Regions from separate parts of the Homo sapiens genome. Here all the other regions are linked to region 1. Evidence: promoter capture Hi-C in 16 types of primary human blood cells and fetal thymus (Javierre and others, 2016). All regions are on one chromosome and are shown on one strand. The core of a region is centred on a gene start or on the middle of the fragment in contact, and the rest is flanking DNA. Distances in the headings are between cores, read along the strand shown. Region 1 holds the start of ASMER1 (adipocyte associated metabolic related lncRNA 1). Region 2 overlaps LOC105369302 (a long non-coding RNA gene). Region 3 has its middle 240 kb from the start of USP25. Region 4 holds the start of HSPA13 (heat shock protein family A (Hsp70) member 13).

Evidence for each region. Contacts are between HindIII fragments. The CHiCAGO score rates a contact against its expected background, and 5 or more counts as called.
Region 2: a contact is called between a fragment that was not itself captured here and the fragment with the promoter of ASMER1 in region 1, in 2 of 17 cell types (M2 macrophages and M1 macrophages). The highest score is 5.3, in M2 macrophages.
Region 3: a fragment that was not itself captured here is called in contact with the fragment with the promoter of ASMER1 in region 1 in 2 of 17 cell types (M1 macrophages and naive B cells); the score reaches 6.8 in M1 macrophages.
Region 4: the fragment with the promoter of HSPA13 here is called in contact with the fragment with the promoter of ASMER1 in region 1 in 2 of 17 cell types (M2 macrophages and M0 macrophages); the score reaches 7.6 in M2 macrophages.

What each region holds. Positions count from the first base shown.
Region 1 is chr21:14,917,381-14,919,946 of GRCh38, reverse strand. ASMER1 (adipocyte associated metabolic related lncRNA 1) reads left to right here and starts at 1,279. Exons shown (of 4, transcript NR_146322.1): 1 at 1,279-1,776. The HindIII fragment of the contact is 3,530 bases long and covers 1-2,566 here.
Region 2 is chr21:15,526,296-15,528,861 of GRCh38, reverse strand. LOC105369302 (a long non-coding RNA gene) reads left to right here. Exons shown (of 3, transcript XR_001754972.2): 3 at 2,139-2,566. Among named protein-coding and RNA genes, the nearest start is that of USP25, 200 kb to the left of the region's middle. The HindIII fragment of the contact is 2,612 bases long and covers 1-2,566 here.
Region 3 is chr21:15,488,285-15,490,850 of GRCh38, reverse strand. It overlaps the pseudogene CYCSP42. Among named protein-coding and RNA genes, the nearest start is that of USP25, 240 kb to the left of the region's middle. RefSeq lists a silencer at 2,232-2,440. The HindIII fragment of the contact is 2,498 bases long and covers 32-2,529 here.
Region 4 is chr21:14,381,857-14,384,422 of GRCh38, reverse strand. It overlaps HSPA13 (heat shock protein family A (Hsp70) member 13), which reads left to right and starts at 1,277. Exons shown (of 5, transcript NM_006948.5): 1 at 1,277-1,328. The coding sequence starts at 1,304. It overlaps LOC105369304 (a long non-coding RNA gene), which reads right to left and starts at 1,657. Exons shown (of 2, transcript XR_007067924.1): 1 at 1-1,657. RefSeq lists enhancers at 741-870, 1,261-1,570. The HindIII fragment of the contact is 7,322 bases long and covers 1-2,180 here.

The sequences.
Region 1 (2,566 bases), core at 30-2,529:
AGAAAATAAATAATATCTTTGTAACCCTGGGGTATGCAAAAATGTATTAGAATTAAAAACATTTCACCTGTCAAAGAATATTTGATTTTCAATAAAATTTAATTTCTGCTCATTAAAAGAAAGTGAACAGGCAATCGACAGACTTTGAAAATTCTCATCACTTATTTTTCATGAATAGGTCATATCCAGAATATATAAATAACTTTTACGAGTCAACAATAAAAAGATAAACAGCTCAGTAAAAAATGGGCCAAAGTCTGGAAAGACACTTAGCAAAAGAAAATTTGGGAATAAGATGTCCTACATAGGATGAGGCTAATGAACACCTGAAAAGCTATTCAACATCATAAGTCGTCAGAGAGATGCAATTTAGAATCATAATGAGTTAGCATTTCACACTCACTGGAATGGCTAAGACTGACAGCACCAAATATTGATGAGGATATGGAGAAAGATAAATACTAACAAGTCAGTAGAGTAAAATATTACAACGATTGTGGGGAAAGGTTTGCCACATTCTTAAAAGTTAAACATATTGTGTCTCAGGAATTCCACTCCTAGGTATTTATCCAGGTGATATGATCACATACGTCTACACAAAGTCTTATATGAGACTGTTCCAAGAACATCTGGAAACACTTAAATATCCATTTCCTAGAAAATGAGTAAGCAAATTGTGGTATATTTATACAGTTAAATATTACTCTGTAATGAAAAGGAATGAGCTAGTGATAACATGCAACAGTAAGAATGAGTCTTAAAAATATATATTGGCAAAAAAAAGCCAGATGTAAAGAATATATACAGTATATTATGTTCAAAGACAGGCAAAATTGTCTATGGCAATGGAAATCAGTACAGTGTGGTTTGACTGAAAAGGAGAAGGAGGAAAACTTCTGGAGTGATTGAAACGTTTTGTATCTTGTTTTGGGTGGTGCTACATCGGTGTATACAACCATCAACACTCACGCAGGGAACACTTAAAATGTGTGCATTTTATTGTAATTTTAAAATTACCCGATTCTAAAAACTGAAAAAAAAAAAGAGAAAGAAAAAACCAATCACAGCAATTTTCAGCATTTTGACTCCATATAAACTGTTATTTTGGAACACTTGGTTTTCATCTGATAAGTGTGTTTGAAAGCAATGCTATGGTAACGAGTGTAGGATTTACCAAGAGAATCTGTGGTAGGAGGAAAGGGTTAGGTCAGCAACACCTGTTTCTGGCACTCTTCTGACGAGACACCAGATTGCCTACTGGCTTCTTCCAGCTTTCCCGAGCACAGGGAGAGTGGCAGCAATACCAGGGAGCCTTATGCTTACAAGATGGACACCATATGTTTTCACTATCGCTTCGTAGCTGTTCTCATCTGTCCCTTTTCTTTGTCCTTTTAGTATCTGAGGTCCAGTAACCCTGAGAAATTTAATTTGAGAAGACACCATGAATGAAATATTAATATTTTAAAATCAAGTACAAAGAGAAGATTGCCTGTGAGTGGTTATTCTCTTCAGTTGTCCAATAGCTGTTATTTATCAAATTAACACCAAAACGTTCAAACTCTCTAAAAATGAATAGCTTTGCTTTATAAGGAGAGTTGTGAAAACTTATTAAGAACTCCTGCACATATTATTTAAAGATACCATTTACACGTGAGAGTAATTATAAATGAAATATATTAAATGTCCGAAAGTAGCACCATGTGGCAGAATTTTCAGGAAAAGAAATCGAATTAGTACTGGAAGAAGACATTCAAATAAGAGAACCACATTTTCAAGGTAAGATTGTGGTGGATTATTGAGCTGGGTTTTTGGTTCTTTAAATTGATGAGATTAGGATTTAATCACAAAATAATTTACTTATAACCTGAGATTTCAGACTTTAGCTGCTGAATATAAAATGTACACTTCTGACTTCCGTTTTTTCCATTTGTGTGATTTCAGGAAAATTTATCAGCAAAACTTGGTGCTTTTGGCCGGAGGCATCTGTTTTGCAATTTCTAATCCTGCAGCTATTTAAAATGCCTGGAGAGGAGGGTGGAAAGATTTGTGTGTGAAGGGTGACTTTAGGAAGGATGAGCAAAAGGGGTACCAAATTTGAGTACTGGTTCTGCAGTTTTGAGTGAGTTCTGGAATTTAATTCTAAATAAAGCCCAGAGCAACATTGTCTTTTTGAGTACATTTGTTTTTTCAAAGTGCCCCTTGTTTGTGAAACTAGTTTCTTCTCAGCCACTAAAAATTATTGCTTGCCTTTTGGGCCACACAGCATAGTAATAAAACAATGTAATTTACTTATGAGGAATAAGATGCACATGTATCTTTAATGCAGCATTCAATGCCTACAGTTTCAGAACCTCAGTGAAGGAGTGAAGAGCAATCTATCGGTTTTTCAATCTACTCCACCTTTGGTGTGGGAAATTCATTTCCCCCAAAGCCCTAGGAAATAGCTTCTCTCTCCTACCTGATACATAGAAATTATTTCTTTTTCTCATTATTTTATCATTTTACCCAATCTCCTACTCTCTCTTTCTGACTCCTACTTATTTTTTAGCCCACTCTCACTTTGAAC
Region 2 (2,566 bases), core at 44-2,543, 610 kb before region 1:
ATTTCCTCCATGCTTGTTAAATTTGGGCAGAGATGAGGAACTAGGCAATGATTAGGATCATTCTCTCTGTTGTTTTCATGTTTCTATGAATTTTCCTAATTTTCAGCTGTTCTGTCAGGTTTGTCTTTAAACTTGGACACTTCAGGCTTTTTACCACCCAGGTTGCACATAATTGGAAAATTCAGTTAAAGAAAAAAAGAAAAGCATGTAGCTCACAAATTTGGATCCACGTTGCTCTAGCTCTAAGGAGCAGATTTCTCTCTGGTCTCTGCCTGCTTTTTCATAATGCTCCCCTCTGGTTTTCCAGCACATCAATAGTTTTGCCAAGGATTTTGGCAGTCTATGCTGTGAATTTGGGTATCACGGTTCCCCACACATTCATATAACTTCCTTCCTTTACTTGCTTCCTTAATTAAGCATCATAGAGTTTTATAACTGGAAAGTATCTTAGAAAGAATGTAGTCACCTCATTTTATATGGGAAGCACCAGGAGTCTCAAAAGGTAAAATGAATTGTCCAGGGTCACCGAGCCAGTTAATGGGTTGGATTCCTAATTCAGTCCTGATGAGTAGCTGTGATGCTGGCACCGGGAGCACTGTATGGTTCTAATGCAATTGGATTGTGCAAAAGATATGAAAGATACCATCCCAGTCCTCAGTACACTTGTATCTTTTTTAGAGAGATCAAATGTACACAAGAAAGCAAATCGTTAACAACTACAAAACCAACCTCACTTCTAGTTCAAAATAATATACTTACTAAACACAAACTTAAGAGTGATAAGGCTACGAGCTCAGGCAACCAACATAGAGTGCACTTGCCTTAGCACCCTAGGAAAGAAGACATTTTAATATATCAGAAATCCATGTAGTATTACTGTATTTCTTCAGACTACAAATGCATGATGCCAGTAAATGCATAATTCCTATGGCACTGGTAAGTGTCAGAAGGCTTCTGAAATTTTTCCACTTTGAAATTTTGGCAAATTAAATTTGTTTTAAGTGCTTGGCTTTCAGTGTCTCTCTCTAATATGAATCCACTACAAATCTCTTTTGATAGAATGTTGGGTTACATTTCCAGGCATATGAGATATAAGGACTAATTTTTAGGAACTTTCAGTTTCCTCTTCATCCCTGCATCTTTACATCTATTAATGGGAAAGGCATAACTTTATCTAGAGTATTCAGTGTATCATGCAAGCTCTTGTATGTGTATGAAGAATAGAAACTTTTTCTAATTATTTGTTCTATGTAGCCTTCTTTTTATAATGAAGTGACATAAGCATAAATTGTGGTTCTAAAACATGTGAATTGATGAATTAATCAAGAAGTGAATAAGTTAAATAATGATGATATAAATATTTAATTTTTGATTAATTTGTAGCATATAACATAATTTTATTTAATTCCAAGTTTATATTCAAGGCTAGTTGTTACTTTTACAGATATGTTCCCTTTAGTTTTTGTTTAAAGCCTTGGAATGGTTTATAATATGAATTGGGTGAAAGTAATAGCATATTATAAAAACAATCCCTTTCAAACTCTAGAAGCAATTAAAGCTGCATTCGTTAACCAATTTTTTTATCTGAATAAAAATCTTTCTGAATGAAGAATTTTATTTTGCAACACTCCTGCAAAATTCCTCCTTGTTTTTGGATAGACAGCAGGCAGGCAGCATTCTGTTGCCCTTGTCAAATGGTCAAATGTCTTTTGATTCACAGCAATGGAAGGAAACGACTTTACCACCTTCTTCCTCTGGAAAGAAGGGAAGGATGTTGAGGCTAGAAGCAGCGATGTATTGGGCTGATACACTGATTGAACCAAAAGCCTTGTTCAAAGTGTGATATTTTGGCAGGCAGAGAGTTGTAGGGAGTGTTACATAATGGGTTCTGCAAGTGGCCACAAACTTATTTAAGTAAACACTTACTGGAATTAATATTTATTGCCTGGGACATAAAGTGATTGCAAAATGCTTGCAAGAGCCTGAAATGATAAAGGCTTTCTGTATCCTGGGCCAGAAACTGGAAAAGAGAAGTTTGTTGATGGTGTTTATACCCAAATATTATTTGTAAGGATCAGAAAGCAACTATTATGGTTAAAAGTAATGTAGCTAAGATTTTTTTTTTCTTTTTTTTGCAGCGAGCAGTTAAAGTGAAAACAAGATCACGGAAAAGGAGATATATTTTGGTAGATCCAAGAATCTATGTTTGATAGAGTCTTCACAGAAAGAGTCGAAATTGACAACATGCTTATTGCTTTGGCTTTGGATGTTGGTTGGGAACATGGTTCTTGAATATCCACACTTCAAAGTAGATCTTACTTTTTGGAAGAGTAGAAAGCTCATTACGTTGGTTAATTTGAGAAGTAAGACAAGGGCTCAGAAAGGTACTAGTTATTAGTACCTTATACACTAGCCTGCCTGGCATTCTTACCATGACAGTGAATTGTCATGGTAAGAGTTGTGGTTTTAAACCTCTTTTCCCCAGATGTTACATGGAGTAATATATGTATCCACATACATATTAAAGTAGGAGGTAGATATTATATTGACTGGTGACTTGAGGACA
Region 3 (2,566 bases), core at 31-2,530, 570 kb before region 1:
GAGCAGAACATTGAGCTTCCACCAGGAAGCTTCTATTGCATGCAATGCAATGACAGAGCAAATTAAAAATAAATAAAGCTCCGAAGGGCAAGGGAGTTTTTGTTCAGAACTATAGCAAGTGGCACACTGTGGAAAAGGGAGGCATGCACAAAACTGGACCAGGTGTGTATGGTCTGTTTGAGTGGACAATGGTTCAGGCCCTGGATTCTCTTACACAGATGCCAACAAGAACAAAGGTAGTGCCTGAGAACACTGATAGAATATTTGATGTGTCCAAAAAGACACATCCTTGGAACAAAAATGATCTTCGCTGGTGTGCAGTAAAGAATTAATTTTGTCCAAAGAAAGATTTGGCCTTTTCCCTGGGCTCCTGGGAGGTAAATCTCTAAGACCTTGGAATGTCCTTGCCCTATATGAGTTTCTTTGTTTTCCGGGAGGCCTTGGGCCACACCAGATTGTCTGTGCTAACAATGGAACAACATGTTATTTATTCTTGGGCAACATGTTATCGTTTTGACCTCTGGAGGGACTGGAGACTATGATCAGCCGTGTGGTAAGTCATGTCAATGTGACCAATCCCCCATAAAACTCAGGACACTAAAACTTAGGTGAGCATCTCTAGTTGGTGAGACTCCATGTGTACTGTCACTCATCCTTTCTGGGAGAAATAGGCACAGTCTGCACCACTTCACTGGGCGAGGACAACTACAAGTTGCATGTTTTGTTGTCTCCCAGATCTGCCTTATGTGACTCTTCCTTCTATTAATTTTAATCTGTATTCTTTTGCTGTCATAACGTACAACTGTGAATATAAGTGAATATAATGACTTTTCTGAGTTTCTGTGAATACCTCTATCAAACTAGCAAGTACATGCATAATCTTGGAGTTTCCTGAATTTGCAGTTGGTATCAGAAGTGAGGATGGTCATGGGGACTACAGAACTTTTCAGCTTGAACTTATAAGGGAGAGAGTGCAAACTTGATAGCAGATCTCAAAACAAACAAACAAACAAAAAAACCGACTAATGAATAATAGTAAGCCACTGCTTTACTTATTACAAAAGACAAATGCCTGATAACTGTTTAAAAGCAGGTGCTATATTTCAATTAATCTGATAAACCAGAATTCAGATCATTAATGGCTGATAGAATATTCTTGTTGAACAGTCCTGATTTAAATAAAATTGGCTGGTCGTTAAATGAATGTGATCATACTTTTTGAATTTTGATAGTAATTCAGGTCCAGCAAATATTATCACAATTTCCTCTTCTAAAGGCATAATTGGAATTGAGGCTAACCTGGATTAGTTAGGTCCAACTTTTCACAAACCTGCTGATTGCCATCTCATAACTAGAGAAGATTGGTTTTCTATTTAGATTTATATAACTGGTTATATGAATATACTTTAATATGATAGTGAAATTCCTTCACTATCTTATAAAGTAGAGTAAGACTCAACTGTATTTGAATTTGTGTTTACCAGTCCATCTAAATGCAGAGGGTGAAGATTTGATTGCCATGCCCATTTTATTTTATTTTATTTTATTTTTTTATTTTATTTGGTATGTTCTATGTCAATTTCACAAAAATTTCTTGCATCTAAATTGTTGTTTTTTACATAGTTTATATATAATATCAAAAAATATTTAACACTTTTTACATTTTATAGATAATCTACAAGATCTGATGCTTTTAAAGGTCAAAATGACAAGAAGTAGTAGCAAGTTAGAATTCACTTTTGAATTGTTTACTATTACACTATGTTGTAATTCAGGCTTATGCTTACGTAGTTGTTAAAAAACAAATAAAATTGTAGAAATGCCATATATACATGATTAGTAATGAGGGTTTTACAAACTCATTAGAATGTAGAGATATACCATCAGCACAGACTTGTAAGTGATGTCATCATAAGGCTTTAGTTAATTTTTTTTTAATTTTTAAAAAACAAAAAAACATTCTTGGTGTGGTAGTTCCTAAGATGGCTTCCAATGAGCTCTGTTTCCTGATATTCACATCTTTGTTTGATTTCTTCCCACTGAGTGTGAGTTGGAGTTAATAACTTGCTTCTAAGCGATGCCACTTCAAGATGAGGTTGTAAAAGTCAGTGACTTCTATTTTGCTCACATTCTGGGGCTGTCTTGTTGGCTCATTCTGGAAGCCAGCTGCCATGTTCTGAGCCACCCCATGGAGAGCGCACAAGGGCAGCCTCCAGGCAACAGCCTGCAAGGAATTGAGGCCTTCACTCCAATAGCCAGCGAGGAACAGAATCCTGCCAACAACTATATGGGCTTGGAAGCGGATCCACTCTCAATAGAGCACTGGGGTGTCTGTGATTTTCTCCTAGTAAGCAACTCAGAGCCAGAGGACCCAGAGAAGCTACAAGGAATTGTGAAATAGTAAATGCTATTGTGTTAAGCCACTAAGTTTTGGAAGAATCTGTTATGCAGCAATAGATAATATATCTAGGCTTAAATCTCAGCTTCATTCCTTTGGAGTAGTATGATTGTTTATAGGTTATTTAAGCTTTTTATGCCTTCATTGAATTATTTGTAAGCTTTGGGA
Region 4 (2,566 bases), core at 28-2,527, 540 kb after region 1:
CTCCTTATAAGAATCTTATTGAACAGCACTCACTATAGACACACACTTTTTATATTTCGCATTATGAAATACTTAAAAATGCGCAAAAGTAGAGAGAACATTACAATGGATCCCTATCAACCAGAATTCAGCTTCCATAATCAAAATTCACATTGATAAGTCAGAAATAACCAGCAATGTATTCCCACAGCAGGCTGACGTGTTGTCAACAGGGATGGTTTGATTTATATCTAAGCTGAGAAAATGGATTCAATTCTCCAGGATCTTAGTTATCGTGAACTCTAACAGCAAAAATGACAAAACCACTCTCAGAGGAGTCATTAAGTGCTACCAGTGACCAAGATGCGAGAAAAATCCTACTTCAGACTAGAACCTGAACAGCATGTCACAAGCGTCCTAAAATGGCTGTCACGTTACAGGACTTGCCCATAAGGTCAATTTTGGCCACTTAAGACTTACTTGAAGAGAGAGCTAAGGGTTTTCTTTTTAATTTCGTTTTTGTTTTTGTTTTTAATGGCCCACGTCAGTGCTAGCAATAGAGAAAATGTGTCCCTGATCCCTTGGATAAATCGAATTGACTGAAGAATGCTTGAATTCATTTATCCCAAAACAAAGGCAGACGGCTGAGGGTCACTGGAGTTTCAGGGCTGCTCCCAGCGTTGGAGCACGGACGCCAGAGCCGACTTCCCTCAGGCCCCGCACTGCGGCAGGGACCCTTCTACGGAGGATGGCTGGGGCTCCGGGAGGCTATAGGAACGCCATCTAGAAGCTAGATCTCAGGCAAACGAACGCGCTTTAAAAGGAATTAAAACGAAAGAACACAAACTCGAATCCTGGACCTGATTAGGGGCACGACCAAAGAAAGAAATAACTAACGGTTCTCACCCTCCCTTTCATTCCCTCCCGCGGAAAGAGAAAGGCTGGAACTCCGCTTCCCAGAATGCAAAGCGCGGGGCGGGGCTAAAGAGATAGCCTGTTTTCCCTCAAGTAGGATCGCGGGACCACAGGTTTGATTATAAACGCCAGTCTCTCGCCACGGCGCTCCTCCCCCTCAGTCTCACTGGTCCTGCCGGCCGTTGCGTGGAAGGGGGACTCAGTCGTCACTGGCAGCGGTTGAATGGAGGCTCTTTGCCCCGCGCCCTCACGGTAGATGAAGTCCTTGCTTTGGTCAGAGCGATAGCTTCTCCGATTGCCTCAGAGCAAGCGGACTACATTTCCCAGGGGGCTGCGGGACTGCCGGGAGGAGTGGGGGCGGTGCCTCACGTCTGGTACAGTCATCACAAGCCTGTTCGGCGGGACTGTGATGGCCAGAGAGATGACGATCTTAGGTGGGTTCCCGGGGGTCCTTGTTGCTCTTGCGGGCGTAGAGGCGATCTGAGGATGCCAGAGTGGGCAGGGGTGGTTGACTCACCTCCTGGATCTAGCTGGAGCAGCGGAAGGGGAGTCAGAAAGGTGACTTAGAGACGGTTTTCGGCTGTTCGGAGTGGATGGGGGCGGGGACGCCTCTAGGAGGGCCCCGGCCCCTGCAGGCCAAGGTAGGATAGACGGCGACCAGCTGTGTCCATCCCAGGGACATCAGGCTTAGGGAGGCGTTCCTTTCAACAGCACCTAGGTTTTTGAATTGCCTGTTGAATTGGGGCAAGCTATGGAAGGCTGCGAGAACGTGCACCTCCAGGACCCCTTTGTGGAGGAAGGGGGAGGAGCTACATCCGGATCTGTCGGCTCAGGGATGCTGAATTTGGAGGCTTTTTCCATCACATCGGGTTTGGAATTACCTATCCCCCACCCACACACACACCCACCCCGCGTCTCCAAGGTGATGAAATGCTTCTGAAATGTTGCCTGTAGCTGGAAGTGGAAAGTGGGATTCGCACTTGGTTTTATTTCTTTGAGTTATGTGTTGATGAGGATGAGCTAACAATTAGTAACACAGAGCCCTGAAAATTCATGTTTTGGGTCATATGTAATATGAGCGGACACAGGTGTATAACACAGCCTCCTGATACCAAATACGAGATTCATTAAAAACTAAAGGGGCATCTTTCTTCGCTTATGTTTACAATCTGCGTGGCATTTGTTCCTACTCTTTTTTCTTTTTTTTTTAAATTAGTATTTGTTGGGCATCTGCTATTCCTGGTCTGGGGGATACAACAGTGAACGAAACTTGTCTTCAAGAAGCTTTCATAGATGTTGCCGTCAGGGTTGCCCACCTTTATGCTTCTTCTCCCCTAAATATTACCACTGCAAGAAGGAAGTCCCTAGTTCATACTTAAATACATAAAAAGTTAACTGTGTTCTGTTTTGAAGTGACAGTTTCATATCTAAGGAACTTTCAAAATCATTTTATCCCATTTATTCATTTCATCCTTTTGAAAGGGAAAAGGAGGTGAGATACGAGGAGAGAATTTTAGACTTATAAAATAATAAAGTTTTTCTTGTGAGAATTTTAATAATGGAGCTTTTAAAAAAAGATAATCGAAGCTTTTTATAAAGCTGTAAAATCTAAATATCAATTGATCAAGAATATTAGATTATATCTGGCTTTTGCTCCAGATAAATGTTGTTT